Linked DNA regions of Homo sapiens: regions 1 and 2 are each linked to region 3. The links are contacts of gene promoters, found by promoter capture Hi-C in human tissues and cell types (Jung and others, 2019). All regions are on one chromosome and are shown on one strand. The core of a region is centred on a gene start or on the middle of the fragment in contact, and the rest is flanking DNA. Distances in the headings are between cores, read along the strand shown. Region 1 overlaps EXOSC2 (exosome component 2). Region 2 overlaps FUBP3 (far upstream element binding protein 3). Region 3 holds the start of PRDM12 (PR/SET domain 12).

Region 1 (4,440 bases), core at 1,190-3,689, 33 kb after region 3:
TACAACCAGGCTTTTCCTGCCCCCTCCTTATCCCCCACCCCACCCCTGCCTGCCCTGTCATGCTGTAAGTCTGAGGTTTTGACCATGACTGTAGGTGGGGTGGTGCAGATCAGTGCAGGCTTCAGAGGTTTCCCCATGTTATGTCACCACTCCAAGCCTTGGTTACCTCCTCTGCAAAGTGAGTATAATAGCATGGCCTACTTCATAGGATTTTCTCTTTTTTTTTTTTTTTTTTTTTCCGAGATGGAGTCTTACTCTGTTGCCGAGGCTGGAGTGCAGTGGCGTGATCTCGGCTCACTACAACCTTCGCCTCCCGGGTTCAAACAATTCTCCTTCTTCAGCCTCCCGAGTAGCTGGGATTACAGGCGCCCTCCACCACGCCTGGCTAATTTTTTTCGATTTTTAGTAGAGACAGGGTTTCACCATGTTGGCCAGGCTGGTCTCGAACTGCTGACCTCTGATGATTTCCCCCCACTTGGCCTCCCAAAGTGCTGGGATTACAGGCGTGAGCCACTGTGCCTGGCCTAGGATTTTCTTTAGAATTCAGTGAGATGGTGCCTGTAAAGTATTTAGCACAGAGCCTGATACCTAGAAGCATTCAATGAAGGTTAGCCCCAGAAAGCAAGCCAGTGGGGTTGGAACAGAGTGAGTGAGGGGGAGAGAAGGGGCAGATGTAAGCAGAGAGCTGAGGTGGGCGGGCGTGGGCCTGCCTTGTAGCCAGAGTAAGCATTTTGGCTTCTACTTTGTGTAATCTGGGAAGCACTGGAAGGGGTGGAGCAGAGGAGGGACTTGATCTGGACTTAAGCTCACTCTGGCTGCTGATGGGAGATTGAAGGGGGATAGGGCAAGCTTAGGGAGGTGGATTAGGGACCATACTCATGATCTGAAGTGATGGTGGCTTCAACTAAGGTGGGAGCAGTGGAAGGTGGAGGAGTGATTGGAATCTACACAGATTTTATTTTCCGAGTGTTTTTTTAAAATCATGAAAAGCTGTTGGGTTTTGTATTCTTTGGGCTTTACTGTGCATAGGACCCCGTCAACTGTGAATAGAAATAAGTTTACTTCTTCCTTTCCAATTTGGATGCCTTTTATTTCCTGCATATGTTTTAAGGGTAGAGCCAACAGGTTTTGCTACTGGACTTGTCCTGGAGCGTGAGAGAGAGAGAGGAATCAAGGAACTCTCCGAGGTTTTTGGCCTGAGCAACTGAGGGGATGGAGTCACCGTTGACTGAGATGGGGACAACTCATCCCCTATCTCGGTTTGCTATGGAGGACTGGAGGGGGCTGCGGGAAAGCTTAGTTTTGTGCTTGATACATTTGAAAATGCCTGTTAGTCATCTAGATGGCAGAGTTGGGTAGCTAGCAGTTGAGTAGGATTTGGAATTCAGGAGAGTGGCACAGTCACAGCACAGAGTGGTGTTTTAAAGGTATTAGATTGAGTGGCCGAAAAGTGAAGAGGTCTAAGGACTTAGCCTCAGCACTGAGTACGTCTCATTAGAATCGCGGGTAAGGAACTAGCAAAGGGGCTTGAGAGGAGCAGGCAGTGAGTAAGTGGAGGAGACGTGAGCAGACTTGTGTGGTTGGAGTCCTGGCTCAGATTTCCTTTCTCTTCCTTTGGCTGGTGCAGAACTCATCCATGTGCCACAGGAAAATAGTCCGTGTTTTTCATTGTCGTGTAATCGAACAAAATAGGGTTTTTGGGCTAAATGAACTACTTGGAATGGTGATATGTCTAAGGATAGTTAATGGAGACTTTATACGTGGAGGAATGTTTGAAGTTAGCAGTTTCTGAAAGTAAGTCCAGACAATATAGTTACATGAATTTGCTGAATGTGGCGCCTGTTCCAGGCTTTCACCCTGTTGAACCGACATCTCAAATGGTGTGTGGTCTTGTCAGAAAGTCTGCTCACAGATGGATGAACCCCTTGTGTTTTGTCTTTCAGATACATTGGTGAAGTAGGAGACATCGTAGTGGGACGAATCACAGAGGTAACGTCGATATCAGATTGGTGTTTACAAAGTCGAGGCAGGCTGGCGATTTCATTCATGGGACAGTCATTCCACTTGTAGTTACATGAAAAAGGCATTCATTGCATTTGGCCGTTGTGTGGCTTCTGATGTAAATATGTGGCTTGTTCGATTTCAGATTACTGGTTCATGTTTTTTTTTTTTTGAGATGGAGTCTCGCTCTGTCGCCCAGGCTGGAGTGCAGTGGCATGATCTTGGCTCACTGCAACCTCCACCTCCCAGGTTCAAGCGATTCTCCTGCCTCAGCCTCCCAAGTAGCTGGGATTACAGGCACCCGCCACCACGCCCAGCTAATTTTTGTATTTTTAGTAGAGATGGGGTTTCATTATATTGGTCAGGCTGGTCTCAAACTCCTGACCTCAAGTGATCCACCAGCTTCGGCCTCCCAAAGTGCTGGGATTACAGGCGTGAGCCACCACATCTGGCCTTACTGGTTATTTATGATATGACACATGAACATGGAGCATGTGTCCAGGTGTGGAACTTGGCTTATAGGTTCAACAGAAGAGGTGGAAGGTGGAGACCAACTCCAGGCTGGATTCGGTCTTGCTGCTCTCGTCCATGAACCTTCCTGGAGGAGAGCTGGTAAGGGCTACAGCTGGGGCCATGGACTAGGGCCCAGTGGGCTGGGGGGAGCCGTGGGACCCTTTGTTCCACCAGAGGACTTTGATTTACACTGAGGTTGCCCCTTTGACTCCTGTTTGTCTGCTGTGAAGTTTGCTGCCTAGATGTGTATGTAGACTTTTCACCCTGTCCAGGTCTCCCGAAAGAGGGAGCAGTTGGCATATGGTAGGATCAGAAACATCCATGGGGTGGGATCCCAACAGAGAGTTGGGGAGAGAAGCCCTTAGATGCTGGTTGTTAACAGTTTTCCTTTTTGGATATAACAGCCTTGCATAGTGAAGATGTTCCTTGAAAAGTTGTCTTTACATTAGGTTTTTGTGAATTGAAAGGCATTTCATTCAACCATGTGTGGAATGTGGTTGCTGGCATTCCAGACAACCACAGTAACTAAGCCACAGCCTTTTGTAAAATGCCATGGTTCACCTTGATCTTCAGTCCAGCGTGTATTTACAGAGAGGCTTACTGTGCCAAGCTCTGTGCCGAGTGCCAAGCACGATTGAGTTCCCCAGCAGGGGATATAAGATAACTGACCTAGTCCCTGGCAGTAGAAGAATAAATAAGCTGTGGTTATACAAAAGGAAATTTCAGTGAGAGAAGCTTGTAGGAAAGACAGGCATTGGAGTTGATCCTGGAAGGATGGAGAGACTTTGAATGACTAGTTCAGGGAATCTGAGATAAAGGGAAATGTATGAGCAGAGATATATCCAAGCAGGAGTTAGTCTGGTCCTGCTGGACCACAGAGGGCTGTCATGGAAGATGACTATGGAAATGTTGGCTAGGTGAGATTGGGAGGGGTCTGAATGTTCCTCAGAGAAGGGAGGGAAAGAGGAAGAGGAGCTGTGGAAAAGTCTTTTGAGATGGAAAGTCGTGATTATCACTGATTCCCCTCAAGTGGCTTGGGTTACCTACTCTTGCTATAGTTCTCAGTGCTTGAATATTGTGGTTGGCCTCAAACATCTCAAAAGGAAGTGAAAGAGAAGTGATGGAGACCTTTCTGAGGATCTGGCTTAAGTAATGTCATTTCTTTGTGTATTTCAGAGGAGAAGATCTGCAGAAGATGAGCTTGCAATGAGAGGTTTCTTACAGGAAGGGGACCTTATCAGTGTATCCTGCGCTTTGCACTCCAGCCTCTTGATGCTTTTCTGTGGGACTGGGAAATGGGCCTTCCATTGTATGTCTCTGACGGAAGAACCATGTCATCCTTGCAGGGATCCGAGTCTTAGACCAAGTGTCGGGCTCTGCTGCATCCTTTCTCAGTCTCCTTAATTCAGGCTGACTCCCCAGCTCTTGTTGGGACCTGCTGCTAAGTCATTTCTTTGGGTCTTGTAACTTACGGTGGCCTGTGCTTTAGACTAGGCTTTTGTTAATGGTGTTAACTTTTAGCGCAGGGAGTGGAGAAGGTGTTGTTCACGTCAAGATATTAATGACAGGCCGAGTGTGGTGACTCATGCCTGTAATCCCAGCGCTTTGGAAGGCCAAGGAGGGAGGACTGCTTGAGCCTAAGAGTTCAAGACCAGCCTGGGCAACATAGCAAGACCCCCCTCTCTACAAAAAAATTAAAAAAGAATTAGCCGGGCGTGGTGGCACATGCCTGTAGTCCTAGCTACTCAGGAGGCTGGGGCCAGAGGGTTGCTTGAGCCCAGGAGCTCAAGGCTACAGTAAGCTATGATCACACCACTGCATTCCAGCTTGGGTGACAGAACAAGACTCTGTCTCTATTTTATGTTATTTTTTAAATTTTTCTTTTTTTTTAATGACGGAGTCTTGCTCTGTTGCCCAGACTGGAGT
Region 2 (4,696 bases), core at 1,858-4,357, 40 kb before region 3:
TGTGTATTTTAGCCACAATAAAAGAAAAATGAAGGAAAAAAATGCATTTTAAAGAACCGCTAGGGCTATGCATGGTGGTTCACGCCTGTAATCCCAGTGCTTTGAGAGGCTTAGGCAGGAGTACTGCTTGAGGCCAGGAGATTGAGATCTGTCTGGGCAATATAGCCAGACACCACCTCTACCAAAACAAAAAAAAAAGTATTTTAAATTAGCCTAGTGTGGCACATTCCTATAGTCCCAGCTGTTCTAGAGGCTAAGGAGGGAGGCTCACTCCTCCCAGGAGATCGAGGCTGTAGTGTGCTACAGTTAACACCACTGTAACCCAGCCTGGATAACAAGTCCAGCCCAGGTAACAGTGTGTATGGTGTGTTTATTGGAAGGCAAAATTACTATTTTTCATCTTTTATCTATAAGGCTTATTCATTTTTATAACCATTTTGATCAAATCTCAAATTGGATGCATTTAACAGTTAAGAATGCAGTTCAGGCCGGGCATGGTGGCTCACGCCTGTAATCCCAGCACTTTGGGAGGCAGAGGCGGGTGGATCACAAGGTCAGGAGTTCGAGACCAGCCTGGCCAATGTGGTGAAACCCTGTCTCTACTAAAAATACAAAAATTAGCCGGGTGTGGTGACGCGTGCCTGTAGTCCCAGCTACTCGGGAGGCTGAGGCAGGAGAATGGCGTGAACCTGGGAGGCGGTGCTTGCAGTGAGCGTAGATGGTGCCACTGTACTCCAGCCTGGGCGACAGAGCAAGACTCTGTCTCAAAAAAAAAGAAAAAAAAAAGAACGCAGTTCAACCACAGTATTATTCCTAAAAGGGAAAAATGTCCTTTATTATATCATTTCCAGGAATGCACTATAATAAAAACTAAGTTGCGTGTTAAAAAAAAATGTGTCCTGGGCCGGGCGTGGTGGCTCGCGCCCATAATCCCAGCACTTTGGGAGGCTAAGACAGGCAGATCACTTGAGGTCAGGAATTCAAGACCAGCCTGGCCAACATGGTGAAACCCCATCTCTACTAAAAAATACAAAAATAAACTGGGCATGGTGGCGGGTGCCTGTAATCCTAGCTACTCAGGAGGCTGAGGCAGGGAGAACTGCTTGAACCTCAGGGGTGGAGGTTGCAGTGAGCCAAGATCGTGCCACTGCAGGCTGGGCAACAGAGCGAGACTCCATCTCCAAAAAAAAAAAAAAAAAAAAAAGTGTCCTGGCCAGACACAGTGGCTCACGCCTGTAATCCCAGCCCTTTGGGAGGCCGAGGTGGGCGGATCACCTGAGGTCTGGAGTTCAAGACCAGCCTGGCCAGCAAGGTGAAATCTCATCTGTACTAAAAATACAAAAATTCGCCGAGCATAGTTGCCTGTGCCTGTTTTCTCAGCTACTTAGAGGCTGAGGTGGGAGAATCATTGGAACCCGGGAGGCAGAGGCTGCAGTGAGCTGAGATTGTGCCACTGCACTCCAGCCTGGGCAACAGAGCGAGACTCAGTCTCAAAAAAAAAAAAAAAGTGCCCTTTAAAAAGACAGGTTTGTGAAAAGTTCTGATGTGGTTTGGTTTCTCTGTGCCTAGGTATCTGTGCCTAGGTTTGCTGTGGGGATTGTAATAGGAAGAAACGGGGAAATGATCAAAAAGATCCAGAATGATGCTGGTGTGAGGATTCAGTTTAAACCAGGTGGGTATGATGATTTAAAAATCCTTAGTGTTAAAAAAAAAAAAAAATCCTTAGTGTTAAAAGGATGATAAAACACCTTACAAAACAAGGGCTTGGCTATTGGTTCATGTGTATTCACCTTTCTCATCCTTGCAACATCCTGCTACCAGATGACCAATCTCAGTTTCTTCTCCCAGCCTTCTTTTCCCTCCCCGGATACATGTCGGTCACCTTTGATTTCCAGGCCTTTTTTCTTTTTTCTTCCTGGAGTATATGCATAGTATGTCATAAATGCATAGTATGTCAGCTTCTGATTTTGCCAAGTAAAATTTTAAAATATATATGTATAATTTTGATTTTATTAAATTGGAGATAATTTAAAACCACACACAAAGACAAAACATCTTAGAATAAAGGACAAATTTTTAAATTTTATAAATTTGCCTTAATGAGCAAAATTTTCGACGTGGTCTGAAAAGAGGAAAACATGGCAGGCTCTTCTCTGGAAGCTGTTGCCATAGCTCTGCTCTGACTCCCTTGGCTTTTTTAAAGTCAAGCTTTGTTTTAGTTCTTTAATGATACATTTTTTAAATGGCTATAATTGCATAAGAATTGAGCATTGACCTGAAACATGCAAAACAATATAATGACACACATTTTCCTATCACCCACATCACTCCAAAAGAGTCCCTGCAGCTGGCAGTATTCCTGTTGCCCCTTTTGGCACCGCGGGTGAGAATATTGATTGGGAATCAGATTAATCCTTGTTTCCTTCTAACGTTGGGCTTTTTTCTAATCCTGTCTCTCACCTGGCTCCTCAGATGATGGGATTAGTCCAGAAAGAGCTGCCCAGGTCATGGGCCCTCCGGATCGGTGTCAGCATGCAGCGCATATCATCAGCGAGCTGATTCTTACAGCCCAGGTGGGTCCAGCTCTGCAGAGTGTGAGTGTTTGGGCTGCAGAAGTGGAAAGTGCTACCCGGGGCTCTCGGTGCAGCACCATAGAGCTGTCACCCTGAGGCGTCTCAAGTCACATTATGGGAAACCAGCAGTTTCTCTACATCAGCCTCTTTCCTGCCTTCTTGGTATTTTTTTCTGCTCATTAATTATTCTGCCTTTATTTACCTCACCATCTAGATTGCCTTTACACAGTAAGTTTCTGGCTATTTAAACCATGTGGGGAAATACCATGGAGATTGGTCGCCAAGTTTCAAATAATCAAGTGTATTTAATGTTAATCTGTGTTAGTGAAATCCAGTCTTAGTGGTAGAAGACACTTCAGGGTCCTCCAAAGTCCTAAAGCTGCCTTCATGCACTTGATTTCATGCACATCTTTGGACTGTGAGCCAGCCTGTGTGACAGTGCTAGGAACCCCTATAACTGATGGTAGGACTGAGGATACATTTGAGAATGACCAGAACGGAAGAATAAAGCAAGAGATTGGAAATTATAGTCCCAGCTCTGCCATCAGTCATGTGACCTTGGAGCTGCCTTTGAACCTCTGGGTCTGGTGTTCCCAGCAGCAGACTCAGGGTGCTTTGCACCAGGCAGTGCTCTCTATGTGATCCCCTAAGAGCCATCTGGTGGTTCTTACTCAAATTACAAATGTGTAGGCCCCCACCCCAGATCTACTGAATCAGCATTTCCAAGGGAGGGTCTTGGGTCTTCACTAGAGACCCAGGCAATTCTTAAGATTAGACAAGTTTATAAAACGGCCACTAAATCAAGCTCGTTCAGCCTGTGGGCTGCACGCAGCCCAGGAACAGCATTGAATGCAGCCCAACACAAATTCATAAACTTTCTTAAAATGTTACAAGATTTTGTGTGTGTGTGTGTGTGTGTGTGTGTGTGTGTGTGTGTGTGTTTTTAAGCTCATCAGCTATCATTAATGTTAGTGTATTTTATGGGTGGCCCAAGACAGTTCTTCCAGTGTGGCCCAGGGAAGCCAAAAGATTGAACACCCCTGCTCTAAATGATCTCTAACATCCTTTTTTTGTAGCAAGAGTTTATGAACCTTGGCCAGGCACGGTGGCTCACTCTTGTACCCAGCATTTTGGGAGGCCGAGGCAAGCGGATCACCTGAGGTCAGGAGTTCGAGACCAGCCTGACCAACATGGTGAAACCCTGTCTCTGCTGAAAATACAAAATTAGCTGGACGTGGTGGCTCACGCCTGTAATCCTAGCACTTTGGGATGCCAAGGCAGGTGGATCACCTGAGGTCAGGAGTTCAAGACCAACATGGTGAGACCCGTCCCTACTAAAAATACAAAATTAGCCGGGCGTGGTGGCGCATGCCTATAGTTTCAGCTACTCAGGAGGCTGAGGCAGGAGAATTGCTTAAACCCAGGAAGCGGAGGTTGCAGTGAGCCAGGATCCTGCCATTGCATTCCCGCCTGGGCAACAAGAGCAAAACTCTGTCTCAAAAAAAGTTTATGAACCTTGCACTGCAGAGGCTGCGAGATGTTTGGGAGAAAACCTTTTCTTCGAGATCTGTGGCATACCCAGAAAGTTGACTGTGCGCTCCTGTGCGTGTGTGAACATCCATTCTAAAATTGCCTTGTTTACTTGGCAGTTGTCTCATAAGAGCAGAGTGCGGGGGAAAAGCACTCCAATTGTCTCAGCTTTCTGCTGGTTTAGATTCTGGGTAAACGTTCACTTTACTCTTAATCAACATGAGCAGGTTTTGCCCAACATTTCTTCATGTGTTGAAAAGTCTGTGCAGCTTCTCCCTTCCATGAAATAGCTCTTAGCTTGACCAGGTTCACCCTCCACATTTAAGAGAGTTTAAATACTGCAGCTCCAAAATGACTCCGCGGACAGCGGCTGGAATGAGACTTGCTGCTGTCTCAATGAAAGGGCTCTTCCTCTGTCCGCTGTTAGATTTAGGTTTTTCTCTCTGCTGGGTGAACAGTGGGAGAATGCCTCAGAGACTTCTCCAGCCCCACATGGGGAGGAGGCCTTGGCAGGTTCCCTCTGTTCCTCCCTTCTGAAGTATCCCTGAATGGTCACTCTTGAACCTGTTACTGCTGCTGCTGCTTGGGGGCAC
Region 3 (4,901 bases), core at 1,946-4,445:
TACGAGCCGCCCACAATGGACCGATATACTGAGGGCCTCTCTATTAACGCCCATGAATATTAAAGAGATCGCCAAGTGGCGGCCAGCGGGCGAGGGGGGCGACGGAGCCTGAGAGCTCCGGCCCGGCCGAGGGGAGGGGGCTTTTGCGCGAGCACATTCCGCGCCTGGGCCCCGCGGAAAATGACAAAATAACACGGGTCATCCGCTGGGAAAGCCCGGAATGTTTCCCCTCGAAATCTCCTCCCGGGGAGATGTGAGCACAGGGTCTTGCTCCCTATTTCAATGCACCTTGAGACTGGGCGCTACCTACGGGCTCCTTTTTCCCCGGGCGGGGGTCCAGGTGGGTTTTGCCGCTAGACTAGAAGCACAAAATGTGAGCGCGGTGGAGATTTGGGCGCACCAGCTGGGAGGACGTTCTGCGCTCCGCTTCTGCCCGGCTCCCAGTACTGCTCTCCGGGCTTGCGGGTCCGGAGGAGAGGAATGGGACTCCCTGGCCGCAGTCCGAGCCCGTGGTCACTGCGCCAGCGGAATCCAAGCCTCTAACTCTAAGCCGGGGTTCAGGACCCAAACGCTGCACCCCAGCACGGAGGATGCACAGACCTGAGGGCTTCCCGCAGTGGGACGTGGCCCTGGAGAGGGCAAAATCCTCGGGGTTGTCGTGGGGTAAAGTGATCTTACCCAAAGAGAGACCAAGCAAAGAAACCTCAGTTCACAAAGTCCAACTCAAACCATTGCACAGACAGGGACACCGAGGCCCAGAGAGGAAAGGGGCAGTCCACAGGACACACAGCAGTCCTTATCCCCCTTTGGTGTCCTGGAGGAACTGAGGTCGCTTTCGGGGCTTGGGAGCTGCCGCAGCGCTTGGCTCCTGGCAGCGCTCCCCGACGTCGTCTCCCTCGCTCCTAGCACTTTGTCCTCTCCACCTAGGTCTTCCCAGAAGCCAAGAAGTAGGCCCCGGTGAGGCTCCCCTGCAGGAGCCATCGGACTCCATACGCCCCCTCAGACTCGAGCTCTGGCCAGGGAGCCGATGCGACCCACAAGCTGCGTCGAAAAATGAGTGGAGGGTTCGGCGACCCTAACCCACCTCCCTCCTCAGCAGCGCTGCCCTCTGCTGGCGCCCTGCCCAACGGTCCTGCCTTCTGCCAGGTGTGCCCTTCCTTGGGCTCCAGCCTCGGGCGGACCCGGACGCAGGGTCTGAAGGCCAGCTACCGCCGCCTTCCTCCCTTTGCGTCCCAACGGGGACGGGGGATGCCGGAGACTACTGGCAGGAACTGGGGACCAGGGGTCTGGAGTCTGGACGCCAGGTGTGAGACCCTCTTAGCCAAGGCGCGTCCGGGTGGTGGAGGGGCGTCTATGCCAACAGGCGTTTGGACAGGGTCTCGCTCATGGGAGGTCAGCTCGCTGTTCTTCCACCCAAGTCCTCCGCGCTGAGGAGAAGGTCTAGGGAGTCCACACAGTCCAGCGGAGACTAATCCGTGAGCCTGACCCACGCCGAGAGGGTCCAGGCACCTCTGTTAGCGGCATCTGAAATTGTAGGCTGGTGATGGGAGCCAGAAGTGCGGCAGGTGGGGTGAGCTCCCTCACCCAGCATGTCAGGGCCTGGGGTCCGAGGCTTGAGGCTGACACTGGGGAGCCGCGAAGCCTGCAGGAAGCGGGGCCTTCCGCTGGGCTCAGCAGCTACCTGCTTCGGGAGAGGGGATCGCTGGGCTCCGAGGTGCCTCGAAACCGCCGCAAAGCAAGTCTGCTCCTGGGATGATGGGCAGGAGGAATAGAGGAGAGGAAGGGAAAGAAGAGAGAGGCAGAGGAGAAAGAAAGAACTAGGAGGCAAGAAGGAAGGGGCGCCGCAACGCCACCGGCTTCCCGAGGTTGCAGCTCAGCAAGGAGCCGGAAAGCCGGGCCGCAAGCCGAACCCGCACTGAGGCCTCTCGCGGAGCTGCCTGCAGTTTCTGAGGGACTTCGCTCTCAGGCACGCCTGCTCCCACCTAGGAAGGGTCTCGGGACCCCTTTCAATCCCCCTATATCCCGTAGGAAATTCTTTTCCCAGAGACAGGCTGCCAGGGCGATTCCTGTCCGCCCATCTCGACCCCCGACCTGGCCCCGCAAGGGCCGGGAGCCTGGCCTTCCATGAAGCTGTCTCAGGCCGGGACCAGCCCCAGCCCCGACGGCCGCTGCGGCCCCGCCTCGGCAGCCCCGTGAGCCCGCGGAGGAGTTTCGCACCCGACCGTGCACAGCGACCGAGTTGGCGCGGCCCGTATGAAGCGAAGCGCCGGCTTCAGCAGCGCAGTCTGAGCAGGGGATCCGCGTGGCAACTAGGGCTGCGCGCGAGCTCGGGGCGACTGTGGCGGCCCGGGGAGTGCAGGGCCGGAGAGGGAAGAGGACGCGGGCTCTGGCCGGGGAGGGAGAGCGGTGCAGGGCTGGGCCGGCCAGCCGGGGCAGCAAAGTAAAGGTGAACGCCGGGCTGGGCCAGGCCGGTGAACATAGATCAGGCCTGAGGGGAGCGCGGGGCCCGAAGCCAGGCGTCCCCTCTTGTCTAGCCTGGTCCCTGGAGTCCTAGAGAGCCTCGCCGCACCCCCTCCCCTTCTCCGTCCCCTCCTCTCCTCAGAGCCGGCTGAGCCTCCCTCCCTGCCCTGCGCTTCCCACGGGGAGAGAAGGAAAAACAGGAGGGGGGAGGAAGGACCAGGAAGGGGAGAGAGGAGTGGAGGGGTACTGTTTGGAGCGGTCCGCGCGCCCCCGCCCCTCGCGCTCTCGCGACGAAGGCTCCTCGAGCCCAGCCGGGTACAACAAGTCTGTCCTCCGACGTCAGGGGGTCATTAATAACCAATTAGGAGGGTCACTGCGGCTCCTATAAAGGCGCTGAGATTTTGCCAAGGGGAAGACGGCCCCGGCCGAGTGTGCGAGAGGCTAGCGCGCGCCTGAGCCCCTTGCTGCCGCTTCCCTGCAACCACCCGCCTCTCACCCACCCTGCACCCCCCGCACCCGCCTCCGCCTCCACCCGCGTCTCTCCACCCTCCGCGCCGCCTTTGCCATCTCTACAGATTTCACCATCTCTCTTCCCCTCTCCCCCTCGTTCGCTTTCCTCCCAGTCGCCCCCTCACCTCCCGCTCCCTCCTGCGTCCTCCTCCTCTCCGTCCTCCCCCTGCTCTGGTTCCTTCTCCATCGCAGCGCTCTCCTCTCGCCCCTTGGGCTCCCCTCTCGCCCGCCCACCTCCCCCGTCGGCCCGGCCGTCCCCCGGCGCCGGGGAGCTCCGGGCCGCCCATGATGGGCTCCGTGCTCCCGGCTGAGGCCCTGGTGCTCAAGACCGGGCTGAAGGCGCCGGGACTGGCGCTGGCCGAGGTTATCACCTCCGACATCCTGCACAGCTTCCTGTACGGCCGCTGGCGCAACGTGCTCGGGGAGCAGCTCTTCGAGGACAAGAGCCACCACGCCAGCCCCAAGACAGCCTTCACCGCCGAGGTGCTGGCGCAGTCCTTCTCCGGCGGTGAGTCCAGCCGTCGGAGCCCGGCGCAATCCCTCCTCCCGGCGACCCCCATTCCCGTCCTGGCGATGCGCGAGACGCGGCTGGGATACCCGGCCTCGCTGCTACTCGCGCCAACCTGGGCTCTCCCGGCGCTCGGTGCACCTCAGTTTCCCCATGGGCCAAACCAGGACGCGAGCCACCAAGCAGCTCCGCAGCCCACCCGGCTCAAGGACCGACCCCGGCGACCCCGTCGCTCGGCCCCGACGCCCCCGCCGGCCCCTCCCTTCCCCTCCTGCGCTTGAGCTGGCGGGTTCCCGGCATTTACAGCCTTACTAGGCGTGTAATAGCAGTTGACTCAAAAAGAAGGGGTTTTAAATTCATTTAGTTAACTTGGGCTTGACCCACGAAAGTTCCCACTTAAACCAAGAACTTTAAAAGGCAGCCGGGGCTGGGGAGGGGGTGGAGGGAGGGCGGGCGGGGAGAAAAAGCCGCGGGGAGAGCGAGGGAGAGAAAGAGAGAGCGAGAAAAGTTTCTTTTCTTTAAGATGTCTCAAGTTCTTATTCCTCATTCATCAACCCGCAAACAATATCTTTCCCTGGCTCTGGCATCTCTGCGCGTCGCCCTCTTTTCCCCCTTTACGATTTCTGTTCCTCTCTTAATTTACCGTGAAGACTAATTCCACTTCCATTCACGCTATGTCAACCATCTAATCCCCCTTTTTTGTAAGGGGAATTCCTCGGCCCCTTTTAAACAAGTCCCCTCCGCATTGAGCTACAATTTACTGCTACAGCATTCTTCCAGGGCTAATGAATTTAGAATTAGCAATTTCTTTCGAATGGAGCCGAATGAATGCGATCACTTTAACAGCGTGACAAATTGCCCGCCGCGCCGCAATGGACACCGTTTAACCCCCCCCTTTCAGCCGGCCCGCTCGCCGGGTATTTTCCCAGGTAGCTTAGAGGGGAACCTTGTAAGACATGGAGGCCGCCCTTGTGCGCCTCGCCGCTTCCAGCCCTGCCGCAGATGCCCGACAGGGGAACCCTCGGGGAGCTGGGGGCCGCCGCGGCTCCTCCCCGCCCAGAGAGATGACATCGGGGTTTGTCTGAGCCCGGGCGCCGCCCTCCCTGGCACCCCAGGGCCTGGGAGCAGAGAGGGACTCGGGCGCGCCCGGGGTCACACAGCGAGCGCAGAGCCTGGCCAGCTGCTGCCGGTGCTTCTTTGGCACCTCCAACACCTGCCAGCCCGAGGTCTGTCCCCAGCGCTGATCACGGCCCGGCTCCTCTGCCAGTGCCCAGAGCCTGGACACACAGTGGGCTCCCGGAAGCCGACTAGGCGAAAGAGTCTCCGGTTGGCCTTCACCTCCTTGCAGGACCTGGCCTCAGTTTCCCTGTGCATAAAACCGCTCGCTGCCGTTGGCTCATTAATTCTTAAACTTATCCGGGGC

Evidence for each region. Contacts are between HindIII fragments. The study calls those that stand out against the background at their distance.
Region 1: a contact is called between a fragment that was not itself captured here and the fragment with the promoter of PRDM12 in region 3, in 2 of the 25 tissues and cell types used here (spleen and stomach).
Region 2: a contact is called between a fragment that was not itself captured here and the fragment with the promoter of PRDM12 in region 3, in 1 of the 25 tissues and cell types used here (IMR-90 fibroblasts).

Annotation. Positions count from the first base shown.
Region 1 is chr9:130,695,639-130,700,078 of GRCh38, forward strand. EXOSC2 (exosome component 2) reads left to right here. Exons shown (of 9, transcript NM_014285.7): 3 at 1,944-1,989; 4 at 2,524-2,613; 5 at 3,691-3,756. Among named protein-coding and RNA genes, the nearest start is that of EXOSC2, 4.1 kb to the left of the region's middle. RefSeq lists an enhancer at 3,585-3,694. The HindIII fragment of the contact is 4,089 bases long and covers 396-4,440 here.
Region 2 is chr9:130,621,139-130,625,834 of GRCh38, forward strand. FUBP3 (far upstream element binding protein 3) reads left to right here. Exons shown (of 19, transcript NM_003934.2): 10 at 1,570-1,672; 11 at 2,473-2,573. Among named protein-coding and RNA genes, the nearest start is that of MIR6856, 2.8 kb to the right of the region's middle. The HindIII fragment of the contact is 4,458 bases long and covers 879-4,696 here.
Region 3 is chr9:130,661,399-130,666,299 of GRCh38, forward strand. It overlaps PRDM12 (PR/SET domain 12), which reads left to right and starts at 3,196. Exons shown (of 5, transcript NM_021619.3): 1 at 3,196-3,478. The coding sequence starts at 3,256. RefSeq lists enhancers at 1,638-2,479, 3,770-4,443. The HindIII fragment of the contact is 18,845 bases long and covers 1-4,901 here.